4 separate regions of the Homo sapiens genome follow, and all the other regions are linked to region 1. Evidence: promoter capture Hi-C in 16 types of primary human blood cells and fetal thymus (Javierre and others, 2016). All regions are on one chromosome and are shown on one strand. The core of a region is centred on a gene start or on the middle of the fragment in contact, and the rest is flanking DNA. Distances in the headings are between cores, read along the strand shown.

Region 1 (2,955 bases), core at 239-2,738:
TTTATAGTTTAAACTCTGAAACGAAATGGATAATAGCCCTTTCCTGAAAAACCCCTTCTTGCCTGGGGACCGGTCTGCCTTTGTAGGACTAACAAATTAGCTACGAGTTTAGGGGCCACGCCGCCTCTGGCTGTAAGAGTCTGAACCTCCCCAAATTGCTCCTGGTAATGATATCACTATTGTAAAACCTAAGGTCAGTGCTTGAGATATTTTGCAGATCCTGCATTCCGATGCAGCAAATGACACCACCCAGAGGTCAGCAAGAAGAACTCACTTCGACTCTCCTATGATTTTATCTTCAACCTGACCAATCAGCACTCCCCACTTTCCAAGCCCATACCCGCCAAATTATCCTTAAAAACTCTGATCCCCGAATGCTCGGGGAGACTGATCTGAGTAACAATAAAACTCCGGCCTCCCCCACAGCCGGCTCTGCGTGAATTACTCTTTTCGCCACTGCAAATCCCATCTTGATAAATCCGCTCTGTCTAGGCAATGCGCAAGGTGAACCCCTTGGGCGGTTACACTTACTCTGGCTCCCCATTCTGCTGCGTGACTTTAGGTAGGCTACCCAACATCCCTGGAATTCAATGATTGATTATACGATCTCCGTGCTTCCTTTCCACTCATAGATCTTACAAAGTCAGTTTCATGCCTCTTTCATTGACAGTTCTATCTCTCTATCTCCACCTCTGAACAACATTGCTCGAGTTTCTGTTCCGACAATTCTATAGACTCGACTCAATGAAGGCACTCAGAATTTCTACCACCTGTTGTATTTTCCAACAAAGATTCCAACCACAGCGGCGAGAGGGAGTTATGTATCACAAGCTGTGATTAGAGACACAATGAGATTTATACAAGGAAAAACTGATTAAGAATCACAAGATTCCAAAGCCCAAAGGAAGTCCTATTTGTAACAATAAATGATGAAAAAGGGGAATTGACTTTTGACTTGTCAGCAAAAACGAAATTAAAAGAAAAGCAAAAGGAGTTGGAAGGGGGAGGCGGGATTCCAAGATACAAAGCATAAATAAAAAGAAGTTCTGTGCTCCACCCCTCCACCAGAGCTGGATACAGCCCTTCTGTTGTCCGCCCTACAAACTTTAGGAAACTTCAGCAAAAGGCCCACCTCCTGGAGTTCCCAGGAACCCCAAAACACGCGTTCTAAGGAAAGAAACAAAGTTGTGCGCGGTCGGGTTTCATGGAGGCCGGCGCCTTCTCCCCCGACCCAGCCCATTCCAGTTAGGTAGGGTCCAAGGCTCAGCCTGGCCGCCCGAGGGATCCGCCCAGCCCAGCCCCAGGGGTCTCAGCGCGGGGGTCCGGCGGGGCCTTCCACAGAGGGCGCGGGAACCTTGGGCGGGCCTGGGGCTCACCGCAGTCCTTGAACTGCACCGGTTCGGCCTGGGCAGCGGTGCTGAGCGCCAGGAGCAGGAATGTAGCTGCCAGGAAACGCATCGCGGATAACGAAGTTCCAAGCTCGGGAAAGAAGCAGCGGCCGCCCGCGGTCACAAGACAAACCTGTCGGGGCGGGCCCGGGGAGGAGCCCAGTCAGGCGACCTGTCACCAGTAACCACAGCTGAGGCCCGCCCGCGCCCCGCCCCCGGCTCCGGAAAGCCAGCTCCAGCCCTCTCAGGCCCAGAAGCCTGCAGTCTCCGCCCATGCCATCCCCTCAGAGGCCTGACCCGCCCGGACCCACCTCCGCCCCGCCCCGCCTCACTCCTCCCCGCCCCGTTCCTTCCCTTTAGAGCACCTCTCCGGCTTCCTGGGTGCGTCCCCGCCGCTGCCGTCTGGAGCATTCCTAGCCAATCAGACACCTTCTCCTCCCGCACTACCCAATAGGCATGTTGGGGGGGCGGGGCCTCCGTGAAGTCCCGGCCTCCTGTTCGTTCTCTCCGCCTCCCGAGGCCCCGGGTGAGAAACGGGGGAGACGCGAGGGGCGGAGCTTGTGGAGGAAGATGGCTGCCGCCTGGGGGTCGTCCCTAACGGCCGCGACGCAGAGAGCGGTCACTCCCTGGCCGAGGGGCAGGTACCAAGACTAGAAAGGCACCTGGAAAGGGTGTTTGGTTCTGCGCCTCTAGGACAAATGGGAAACTAAGGCCTGTGGGGGATGCGAGGGTTTGGTGGGAGGCCGTCCAGGTGGGGGTCGCCAGGTTTAGCGTGAGGCGCTCCAGGTCGAGGGTTGCAAGGTGCCCCTTCTGCTCCCGGGCTCACCCTCCTCCCTTGCGCGCAGGCTCCTCACGGCCTCCCTGGGACCCCAGGCGCGTCGGGAGGCGTCGTCCTCCAGCCCCGAGGCCGGCGAAGGGCAGATCCGCCTCACAGACAGTTGCGTCCAGGTAGGAGGCCGGACGCGGAGCGGCGGTACCCAGGCGATTGGCGGGAGCAGCGGGAACTGCTCTTCACTCAGCCCTTTAACTCCCGTTTCCCGCTATTCTTGATCCCCCTTCCTGCATTTCAGAGGCTTTTGGAAATCACCGAAGGGTCAGAATTCCTCAGGCTGCAAGTGGAGGGAGGTGGATGCTCCGGATTCCAATACAAATTTTCACTGGATACAGTTATCAACCCCGACGACAGGCAAGGAGGAAGGGGTGGGCCCCCAAAGGAGGTACAGGAGGGACAAAAGTGTCTCCAGTTTAAGGTGCACTTTTATTCCAAATTTAAAGGGTTTACCTGGGATGGTTAACACCGCCCGTCTCACAGTGAGGATGCAGTAAAGGTTTGTTGTTCTGAATCAAAGTAACTAAGTTATAGGAGCAAAATTGATCTGCCCAGGTCCATTGGGTAGTCGGTAGAAAGTCAGGCCGGACTAGATTCCAGGCTTAAGTCCCTACACGTTTCCCAGTATTTATTCCATTGAATCATTTTGCCTCAAAGAAAATCAGCACCTGTTAAAGGTAATGGGGAAGCTCCCTCTGTACTTTAGAAAACAGAGGATGTGCACCTCTGGGCTCAGGG
Region 2 (2,955 bases), core at 281-2,780, 680 kb after region 1:
TAGTATAACAAAAGCCCCATTGTGTTACAAAGAAAAAAAAAGACACTTTGCTTATTGTGAATGAATAAAATTACCTAAAATGCAACCAAATACTGACAGATATCAAATTATATTAATGTCTCAAAGACCAGGCCAGGCTACTCTTAGCTACAAAACAGAATCAAACTGGTATTATGGCAGTAGTTGTCACCATCCAAGAGCATAGTTGGTATTTACATAAAAGAGCCAAGTCCAGATTCTGGCATACCAAAGAAAAAGGACTAGAGACTGAGACCATTTTGTAACCAATAATCGACTTTAATCAACTACAGAAATTACAAATTTAAAACAAGGAAGGAATAAGGTTGCAGCGCTTTTCCCTCAACATACTTAACTACCAAACTAAGTAAGAATCTATTCCATCGCAAGGACAGAAAACCAAACACCGCATGTTCTCACTCATAGGTGGGAATTGAACAATGAGAACACTTGGACACAGGGTGGGGAACATCACACACCGGGGCCTGTCGTGGGGTGGGGGGAGGTGGGAGGGATAGCATTAGGAGACATACCTAATGTAAATGACGAGTTAATGGGTGCAGCACACCAACACGGCACATGTATACATATGTAACAAACCTGAAAGTTGTGCGCATGTACCCTAGAACTTAAAGTATAATAATAATTTTGAAAAAAAAAAAAGAATCTATTCCATCTGTGACACTTACTAGTTTATCCTACCTCTGAGTCTCAGTTTCCTCATTTGTAAAATGGGGCTAACAGTACCTACCTACTTCATAGGGTAGTGCATGAACCAAATGGTAATATATGCAAAGTAGCACAGTAACTGACACAGCAGATGCTCAATAAATAACATTTTATTAATCACGGTTAGCTCTGTCTCCTTTACTTTCCTGCAGGTATCGCGGTATCTTATGATGCCAATCCGTATAAATATTCAACACCCCAACATTTATTTGGAGAACCAAATTACGGTTCAATGTATCTGAGACCAAAACTGGTATAGGACGTTGACAACCGCCCCAGCTCAGGTGTCACCACATCCGCCAAAGCCTCGCAGCCCTTCTTGGGGTTCCCAGGCGTTGGTGACCCGCCCCGCCCCGCGACAGGCAACCAGCGGGGTGAGGGGGCGGGCTCCACCGCACGTCCTTTGCGCTCCCGGGAGGCCAGAACAACTCCCAGGCCTCCGCCGGCCCGACTCCCCCGAACCCGAGCCTCCCCTCGCCTAAGCCTGCCGTCTTCCCTCCCGGCCCCACGTCGCCCAATGCCGCACCTTGAGGTGGCTGCGCAGGCCGCCAGCGCCCCCAGACTGGTCGGAGATCTCGTACGCGCCAGTCACTAGCAGGTCCTTGTGAATCTCCTCACGGAGGCACTTGCGAGAGTTAATGGGCAGATGGAAGGAGATGGCAAGGACCAATCTGGGGCCGAGCAGGAACAAAAGCAGCAACGCTAACGGAAAAGGGCCGCGCCGGGCTGGTGGGCCAGACAAACCAGACATGGTGCTGGAGACTCGTTCACCACCGAAGGCCTCAACCGCGCCGGAACCGGGGGGACCCACGTGACTCACCTCTGACCTTCTGATGCCGTCCGCGCCATTTTGGAGACTGGCATGTAGAGAAAGACTCTATAGCGAATCTTTTGAAAAGGGAAGAAAGGATAGGTACCATGTCAAAACCGCAAGTTTAAGCAGTTAAAGAAGCTTTAATAGAATACTATTGCAACAGTTTTATTTTTGTTGAAGTTAGTGACTACTGAGTCGGCCATGGCAAGTATGGGCAGCCCTGGAAGTAATTCTCCTTTAATTTCCGAAAGATGTACCCACGAGTTTAAAGGCGAGTGACACCATAGCAACCAAGCCCCAATAGGAAACAGCCACAAGGCCCTTCGCTGGGCCCGCCCACCGGCCGCCTAGGCGCGAGGGCGGGGAATGAGGCTGTGTCTCCGGGGATGGGGCGGTTTGCAGGCACTCCCAAGCGCCTTTGACACCTTGATGACACCTGGGGCACTGAGACACTAGAGAGGAAAATTTCGAGGAAAGATTTCAACTTGGCTATTAGACAGTGTGGACCTTAGAGAAGAAGTTTTAGGGGTCACCTGATGAATGTGTGCCGGGCAGACATCCGGTTCATGTCCCATAGCAGGGTATTTGGGCTGGAGTAATTGTCTGGCTAACTGAATGTACATGGTATTATTATTATTATTATTATTATTATTATTATTATTATTTTAGCAAACATTGAATGTGTTCTAAGCTATATTCAAAATAAATTTGAATTTGGTATTTAAATTGAATAAAACAACATGTTTTGGTCCAGTCTCAGATGAACATAATTAAGGGGTTAGCAGATAAGCGTTGTCAGGGAAAGTGCGTATGTGTGTGTTTTAAGTTCACAAACACTTTAGGGATCAAATTAACTATTAACATTTGCAAATAGACAAGCAAATTGACACGGTAATAATTCATGCATTCATTCAATGGAGTACCTACTGTGTGCCAGACATTATGCTATGCATGTATGTCAACACGTTTATTGATTTAACAAACTATTACTGGGATACTAGCAAATATTCAGAGCTGAAGAATATATTAAAATAAACGGCCAGGCGCGGTGGCTCACACCTGTAATCCCAGCACTTTGGGAGGCTGAGGCGGGTGGATCACGAGGTCAGGAGTTCAAGACCAGCCTGGCCAAGATGGTGAAACCCCGTCTCTACTAAAAATACAAAAAAATTAGCTGGGCTTGGTGGCGGGCGCCTGTAATCCCAGCCACTCAGGAGGCTGAGGCAGAGAATTGCTTGAACCCGGGAGATGGAGGTTGCAGTGAGCTGAGATGGCGCCACTGCACTCCAGCCTGGGCGACGGAGTGAGACTTGTCTCAGAAAAGAAAGAAGGAAAGAAAGAAAATGGAATTGCTCCTTGGCCTTTTGGCTAACATCAAGTGTAGAAAATAAACG
Region 3 (2,955 bases), core at 335-2,834, 580 kb after region 1:
AGACAGGCGGATCACCTGGGGTCAGGAGTTCAAGACCAGCCTGGCCAACATGGTGAAACTCTGTCTCTACTAAAAATACAAAAAATTAGCCAGGTGTAGTGGCAGACGCCTGTAATCTCAGCTACTCGGGAGGCTGAGGCAGGAGAATCACTTGAACCCAGGAGGCAGAGGTGGCAGTGAGCTAAGAGTGCGCCACTGCACTTCAGCCTGGGCAACAAAACAGGGCGAGATTCCGTCTCAAAAAACAAAAAACAAACAACTTTAAAAAACCCCAAAAACCAACAAAACAGAAAACAAAACAAAACAAAAATGCAGGGGTAAAGTGATGGAGTCAATTCCCGGAGGGTACTGAAAAGGACTAATTCAAGAGAACTCAATGGAACTCAATGGAAAGTCGCCCTTCTTTCTCATAGAGGAGAGGGAAGGAGAGAGAGAGAGGAGAGAGGGAGACAGACAGAGACAGAAACAGAGGAGAGAGGGAGAGGAGGAAGAAGAGAGAGAGACAGAGAGAGAGAGAAAGAGAAAAAGAAAGCCGGTAAATTCTGCTGAGGGAAGCTGTGGGAGTTGATAATCGGGACCCTGAGTGGAGTGGGAAACGTCTGGAGCTGCATATACGGAGAGGCGGTAGAGTCAACTAGGGATGAAAACGAGGAATTAAAAAAAAAAAAAAGACTGATCTGGAGGGTCCACCAAGGAATTTCCTTGTAACGGGTAACAGCTGTAATATGACATGTTGAAGTATTAACACTGATGACTGCTGTCTACATTATTTTCCATGTGCATGAATTGAGTAGTTACAGGGAAAAAGCGAACTGCCTGTTCCAAACGGCTTACACAGATGAACTGAAGCGAAGAAGAAAAATGAACTTTCTTTTGATGTCAACAAGATAGAGTATCATTTACTGTTGAAGCCAGGTTATACTGATTATTTTCGATCTGGTAGTTAACTTTATCATCATTACATTTGGCTGAGTCATTCCTGGGCCCTAAGTAGAGACGGCTAGAATTACCACGTGAGTAAAACATTATAATATCAAAATAATTAGATTGGCCACAAAAACTACCACGGAAAGATACTGCGTAGCAAAAACGTTGGCAGCAAGTTCCAAAGCCTTGGCGAGGACAAGCAAGGAGCGCGCGCGTGCAGCCATACCTGGGGCCCGCCCAGCGCAGCCGAGCGCGCGGAGAAAGGCCAGCAGCAGCCCCGCTCCCGCCAGGCGGGCGGACGCCGGCATCCTGCGGCGGAAGCACGCGGAGGCACAGCCAGGGCCTCCGCCCTTTGCCAGACAAGGGCACACCCCAAGGTCTGGGAGCGTCGTTCTCAGAAAAGTACAAGTTCTTCTTTGAAGGAGCTCCAGAAAAGCCTCTCCCGCCCCTCCCCGGCTCCCCAAGGGCAGGGCTGGACCGAGCTGCAGAGTTGGCCGGACACTGACTGGGTCAAGTGACCTTGGGCTGACCGCACCCCCACCCCCGGTCGCCCCGGGTCGCTGGTGCACTGCGCCTGCGCGCGTCTCCCCGAGGAGTTCGCGGCGAGGGGCGGAGCTTGGCGCGCCAGTGCCTCGGTTTCCAGGCACCGGGAATAACAGAAGCCAGCTGAGAGCGCCTGCGCGGCTGTCGGTTGATGGGGAGGTCAGGTCTGGGAAACTAGGCCCTGGGGTTTTCCCTGAGCAGGAGCGGTGCCCGAGGGCCTCAGGTACGCAGAAGGGCGGGGAGACATGGGATCAGCACCTCCACCTCCTAAGGGACCGAAGGGCAGGAGAGCGAGAGGACTTGTCCCCAGAGGTGGAGTCCGAAGTGGGGGCGCCCCAGTTGACCCTTCGGGACAAAACGTGACTTCAGCCTTAAGGATCTAAAACCGGCCGCGGTCAGGTCAGGTGGCCCTCAACGCTCAGGTTACAAAACTTTTACAGTCTGCGCCACGGGGACTCCTGGGATGAGGGTTTGACAGCCAGGCACCTGCTCCAGGCCCTAGCAGCTTTTGTGCTCTTTGGAATCAAGCACGGTTCCAGCAGGAGGGAAGCCCTGAGAGTTCTTTGTGCCAGTCACTACCTCTGGGCCACAGCTTTCTCACCTGTAAAATGGTGAGGCTGGACTCTGCGGGAACCCTTCAGTTTACAGGGGAAGAAACGGGGGCCAGCAAGGGAGAAGTCGCTTGTCCTGTTACAGGCCTAGAACCTGACTTTCTAGTCAGGTGCTCTTTCCACCTACTATAGAGTATACTGTGCGTGGCAGAGGCTGGTGCTGGAGGAAAGGAAAGCTAGGTGGCAGGAACACCTGTAGCACCTTCGTTTTTCTACCCTCAGGGCCTAACACAGTGTCTTGTGCATAATCACTCACCAAATGGTTTTTGAAGGGAAGCTTTGGCAGGTCCAGCAACACTGTCCCCAGAAAAGTTTAAGGGAATGTGGGCAGGGCAAATGTAGAAATAGTTTGCTTTAGCAGCCGAGAGTGAACCTCAGACAAACTCTTCCCGTGTATCTGGTTTAAATCTCCCGTAGGCGTCAGTCCAGGCCCTGAATGGCTGGTCTCCAGCGGTTGGCGTCACATCTGCCTGTGGGCGTTATGCTCCCACATAATACAACGGAAGCTCCAGGGCCCCACTCAGCCAAGCAAGACTCTTACGAACAAGGTGACTCTTCCCAGCAGTCCTTGAAGGGGCACCTGAGGAACAATTTCCAGAAGCAGCTTTTGAGCAACAAAGAGTTGATTCTGGATAAAGTCTATACTCACCCCAAATGGAACACCCAAACAAAAGCCCGGAGCTACTCCTATCCCCACTGTACTGGAATCAGCCAGCAAGATCCAGAAAGTGATTCCCAGGGCCAAGGAAATGGTTTGTTTTACTCGTCAGGCCCTCAATCCTGGTATCCCAAAGCCAATAACCAGGACTTTATCCCCTTTACAAAGAAACGAGTTGGAGTGGACCGGGCGTTCCCATTGAAACCCATGGTCCAC
Region 4 (2,955 bases), core at 313-2,812, 560 kb after region 1:
AAAAAATTCATAATTTCATAATTTTCAATGCTCCTTTCTAAATCCCACATGTCCTAAAGTGAAATCATAATTACACTTGAAGTTGACCAGTAAACACAGTATTCGAAATTCTAACCACTTCACCAAAAACAGATGCCTAAATTAAATACAGCTAAGGAACATTAGCTAGAAATTATTCATGACAAAAATGTCCAAGCTAGTTTCATAACATTTATACATTACACAATAACCATGACTTTTAGAAAAATACTTATAATGAATTGCTAAGACATTGTAATAAGGTGAAGCAATAGGAAGAAATTTTAAGAATCAAATTGTATCAAAGAGAGATTGGGGGCATTAAGAGGTTATTATTATTATGGTTAAGTATAGTCACCTCAGGGAAAGAGGCTGGGAATGGGAAAAGATAAAGCAGGAAAATTCCTTTTCATATAAACCTTTCTTTGCCATTTGATTGTTAAATCCTGTTCATGTATTACTCTGATGTTTTTAGAAAGTCGTTATTATTCTTTTTTGAAACAGTCTCACTCTGTCACCCAGGCTGGAGTGCAATGACACAATCTCGGCTCACTGCAGCCTGCACCTCCCGGGCTCAAGCAATCCTCCAGCCTTAGCCTCCCGAGTAGCTGGGATTACAGGCGCTCGCCACCATGCCTGGCTAATTTTTGTCTCTTATGTAGAGATGGGGTTTCACCATGTTAACCAGCCTGGTCTCGAACTCCTGAACTCAAGTGATCCTCCCGCCTTGGCCTCCCAAAGTGCTGGGATTACAGGTGTGAACCACCGCGCCCGGCCAGAAGGTCATTATTAATATTCTTTTGGTCTTTACAGATGGGCATAAACTACCTTGGTAATAATAATGATGGCATGGGGCTGCCTGAACTTGATTTTAAGTTTTCCTGCAAGTGAAAACACAAAAACAAAAAACAAAACAAAAAAAACCAAACCCTAAGATTCCAGTGCCATTAAAGGTCTCCCCTTCTTCTCCATCAGTGAGAGCCACGTGGGTGGGCCCCTGCAGGCGGTGGGGCCGGTTTTCCAAACTCGGGACAAATCAGGGCTCTTAACTGCAGAATTTCTGCTGCTTTCTAAGCTAATGCACTAAGCAGCCGGCAGCAACTGACGGGTAAACGTTTAACAAGTATTCCGATTAATGTAAACCCAATGATTTCCTGATGACGCCTCCCAGCGCCTGGGACTGACGGGACGCACGGGCCTGGATCCAGGGCACGGGGGCCTGGGAGGGCCGCGCGGGCCGAGTCCGGGGCAGCGCTGCCTTCCCGCCAGGCCCAGCCCCTCCCTGGCCAGCCCCGTCCTTGTCCCCAAACTGGGCCCGCCCGGCCGCCAGGCCGCCGGGCCTCCGGGGCCCTCGCGCATCCGGCTCCGAAAGCTGCGCGCAGCCATCATCAGGGCCCTTCTGGTGTTAGAAGAGACCCCGGCATCATCTTTTCGTCGCGTGCTTCCCCCAGAGTCACCTGGAGTCCCGCTTAACAAATTCTCCGACACCAACCGCCTCGGACGCCGACGCGCGCACCTTGGATCTTGAGGCTCGTGCGTGCCCACGAGCATGCGCTTCGGAGGGGGCGCGCCAGGCCGCGAGACACCAGTGCGCATGCGCACCAGTTGTTCCAGCCAAGGATCCGCATCCCAGGGTTCAGTGAACCGGTACCTACAGTCTCAATCCTTATTCCCTTTTGGCATGGTGTTAAAGACTATGTCGTAGCTTTTACTTTTGTTTTTATTTTTTTTTCCCGTGTTTTCCCTTTCCTTTTTTTTCTCATTTTCACCTTTGCTCTTAACTACCGTTTAATTCAATATATATTTTATGTGTTTACTTATTGTCTTCTCTCCCTAGAATGTAAGCTATGTGAAGGTAAGGAGTTTATATATTTTGTTTACTGCTGTATCCCAGTTACCAAGAACAGTGCCTGGCCTATGGTAGGCACCGAATGAATGAATAATTCCAGAGCCTGCCATCTTAGAATTATGGCATTTGGAGCTGGAAAAGGCTGAGAAACTGTCTAACTCAACTCTTTTTTTTTTTTTTTTTTTTTTTGAGACGGAGTTTAGCTCTTGTTGCCCAGGCTGGAATTCAGTGGTGCGATCTCAGCTTACTGCAACCTCCGCCTCCAGGGTTCAAGTGATTCTCCTGCCTCAGCCTCCCGAGTAGCTAGGATTACAGGCATGCGCCACCACACTCGGCTAATTTTGTATTTTTAGTAGAGACGGGGGTTTCTCCATGTTGGTCAGGCTGGTCTCGAACTCCGGACCTCAGGTGATCTGCCCGCCTCGGCCTCCCAAAGTGTTGGGATTACAGGCGTGAGCCACCGCACCCGGCCTTTGCTCAACTCTTAATTTACAGATGACAACACCAAGACTCTCTTCACTGACTTGAATCTCCCCAGTGCCACCACAGCTTTTAGTTATAAAAATAACTAAAGGAGAGCAGAACTCTGAGAATGCTGTGAGAATAAAGTGTTTTGGAATTGTTAACCAGTCCTTAGTTTTTGCTTTCTATCTCATTTTCATTGAGAATTTAAAGTGGAATTTATAACGAATTTGTCAGACCTGGTAAGCATTTGATATATGCTAGTTTAGTGACTAACCAAACCCAACCAACCAGTCTTCTAGGGCTGATTAAGCAAAATCCTGATAACTGTTTATGATTATTACTATACCTAGGGCTGCCATAACAAAATACCTCAGACTGAGTAGCTTAAGCAGCAGAAGTCTATTTCCTCTCAGTTCTAGAGACTGGAAGTCTGAGATCAAGGTGTTGGCAGCAACGATTTCTCCTGAGGCCTCTCTCCTTGGCTTGTAGATGGCCATTTTCACAGGGTCTTTGATTTTTGCACACGTGTCTATAGCCAATATGTTCTCTTATAAGAACACCAGTCAGATTGGATTAGGGCCCACCCTCACAGCCTCATTTAATCTTAATCACCTCTTTAAAGG

The links. The method cuts DNA at HindIII sites, captures the fragments that hold promoters and counts their contacts. A CHiCAGO score of 5 or more calls a contact.
Region 2: the fragment with the promoter of TMED10 here is called in contact with the fragment with the promoter of NPC2 in region 1 in 1 of 17 cell types (naive CD4 T cells); the score reaches 5.9 in naive CD4 T cells.
Region 3: a contact is called between the fragment with the promoter of ZC2HC1C here and the fragment with the promoter of NPC2 in region 1, in 4 of 17 cell types (fetal thymus, total CD8 T cells, M2 macrophages and 1 more). The highest score is 7.6, in fetal thymus.
Region 4: a contact is called between the fragment with the promoter of MLH3 here and the fragment with the promoter of NPC2 in region 1, in 2 of 17 cell types (fetal thymus and non-activated CD4 T cells). The highest score is 6.7, in fetal thymus.

The regions. Positions count from the first base shown.
Region 1 is chr14:74,491,817-74,494,771 of GRCh38, forward strand. NPC2 (NPC intracellular cholesterol transporter 2) reads right to left here and starts at 1,489. Exons shown (of 5, transcript NM_006432.5): 1 at 1,377-1,489. The coding sequence starts at 1,458. It overlaps ISCA2 (iron-sulfur cluster assembly 2), which reads left to right and starts at 1,949. Exons shown (of 4, transcript NM_194279.4): 1 at 1,949-2,029; 2 at 2,234-2,336; 3 at 2,459-2,574. The coding sequence starts at 1,959. RefSeq lists silencers at 1,242-1,301, 1,472-1,751 and an enhancer at 1,952-2,031. The HindIII fragment of the contact is 4,485 bases long and covers 1-2,955 here.
Region 2 is chr14:75,175,082-75,178,036 of GRCh38, forward strand. It overlaps TMED10 (transmembrane p24 trafficking protein 10), which reads right to left and starts at 1,531. Exons shown (of 5, transcript NM_006827.6): 1 at 1,274-1,531. The coding sequence starts at 1,498. RefSeq lists enhancers at 1,355-1,927, 1,442-1,681. The HindIII fragment of the contact is 2,239 bases long and covers 1-1,697 here.
Region 3 is chr14:75,068,057-75,071,011 of GRCh38, forward strand. It overlaps ZC2HC1C (zinc finger C2HC-type containing 1C), which reads left to right and starts at 1,585. Exons shown (of 3, transcript NM_024643.4): 1 at 1,585-1,693; 2 at 2,499-2,955. The coding sequence starts at 2,518. It also overlaps a transcript of ACYP1 not described here. RefSeq lists enhancers at 1,228-1,779, 1,780-2,331 and a silencer at 1,484-1,603. The HindIII fragment of the contact is 2,993 bases long and covers 1-2,356 here.
Region 4 is chr14:75,049,905-75,052,859 of GRCh38, forward strand. MLH3 (mutL homolog 3) reads right to left here and starts at 1,563. Exons shown (of 13, transcript NM_001040108.2): 1 at 1,476-1,563. RefSeq lists a silencer at 1,176-1,365. The HindIII fragment of the contact is 13,274 bases long and covers 1-2,955 here.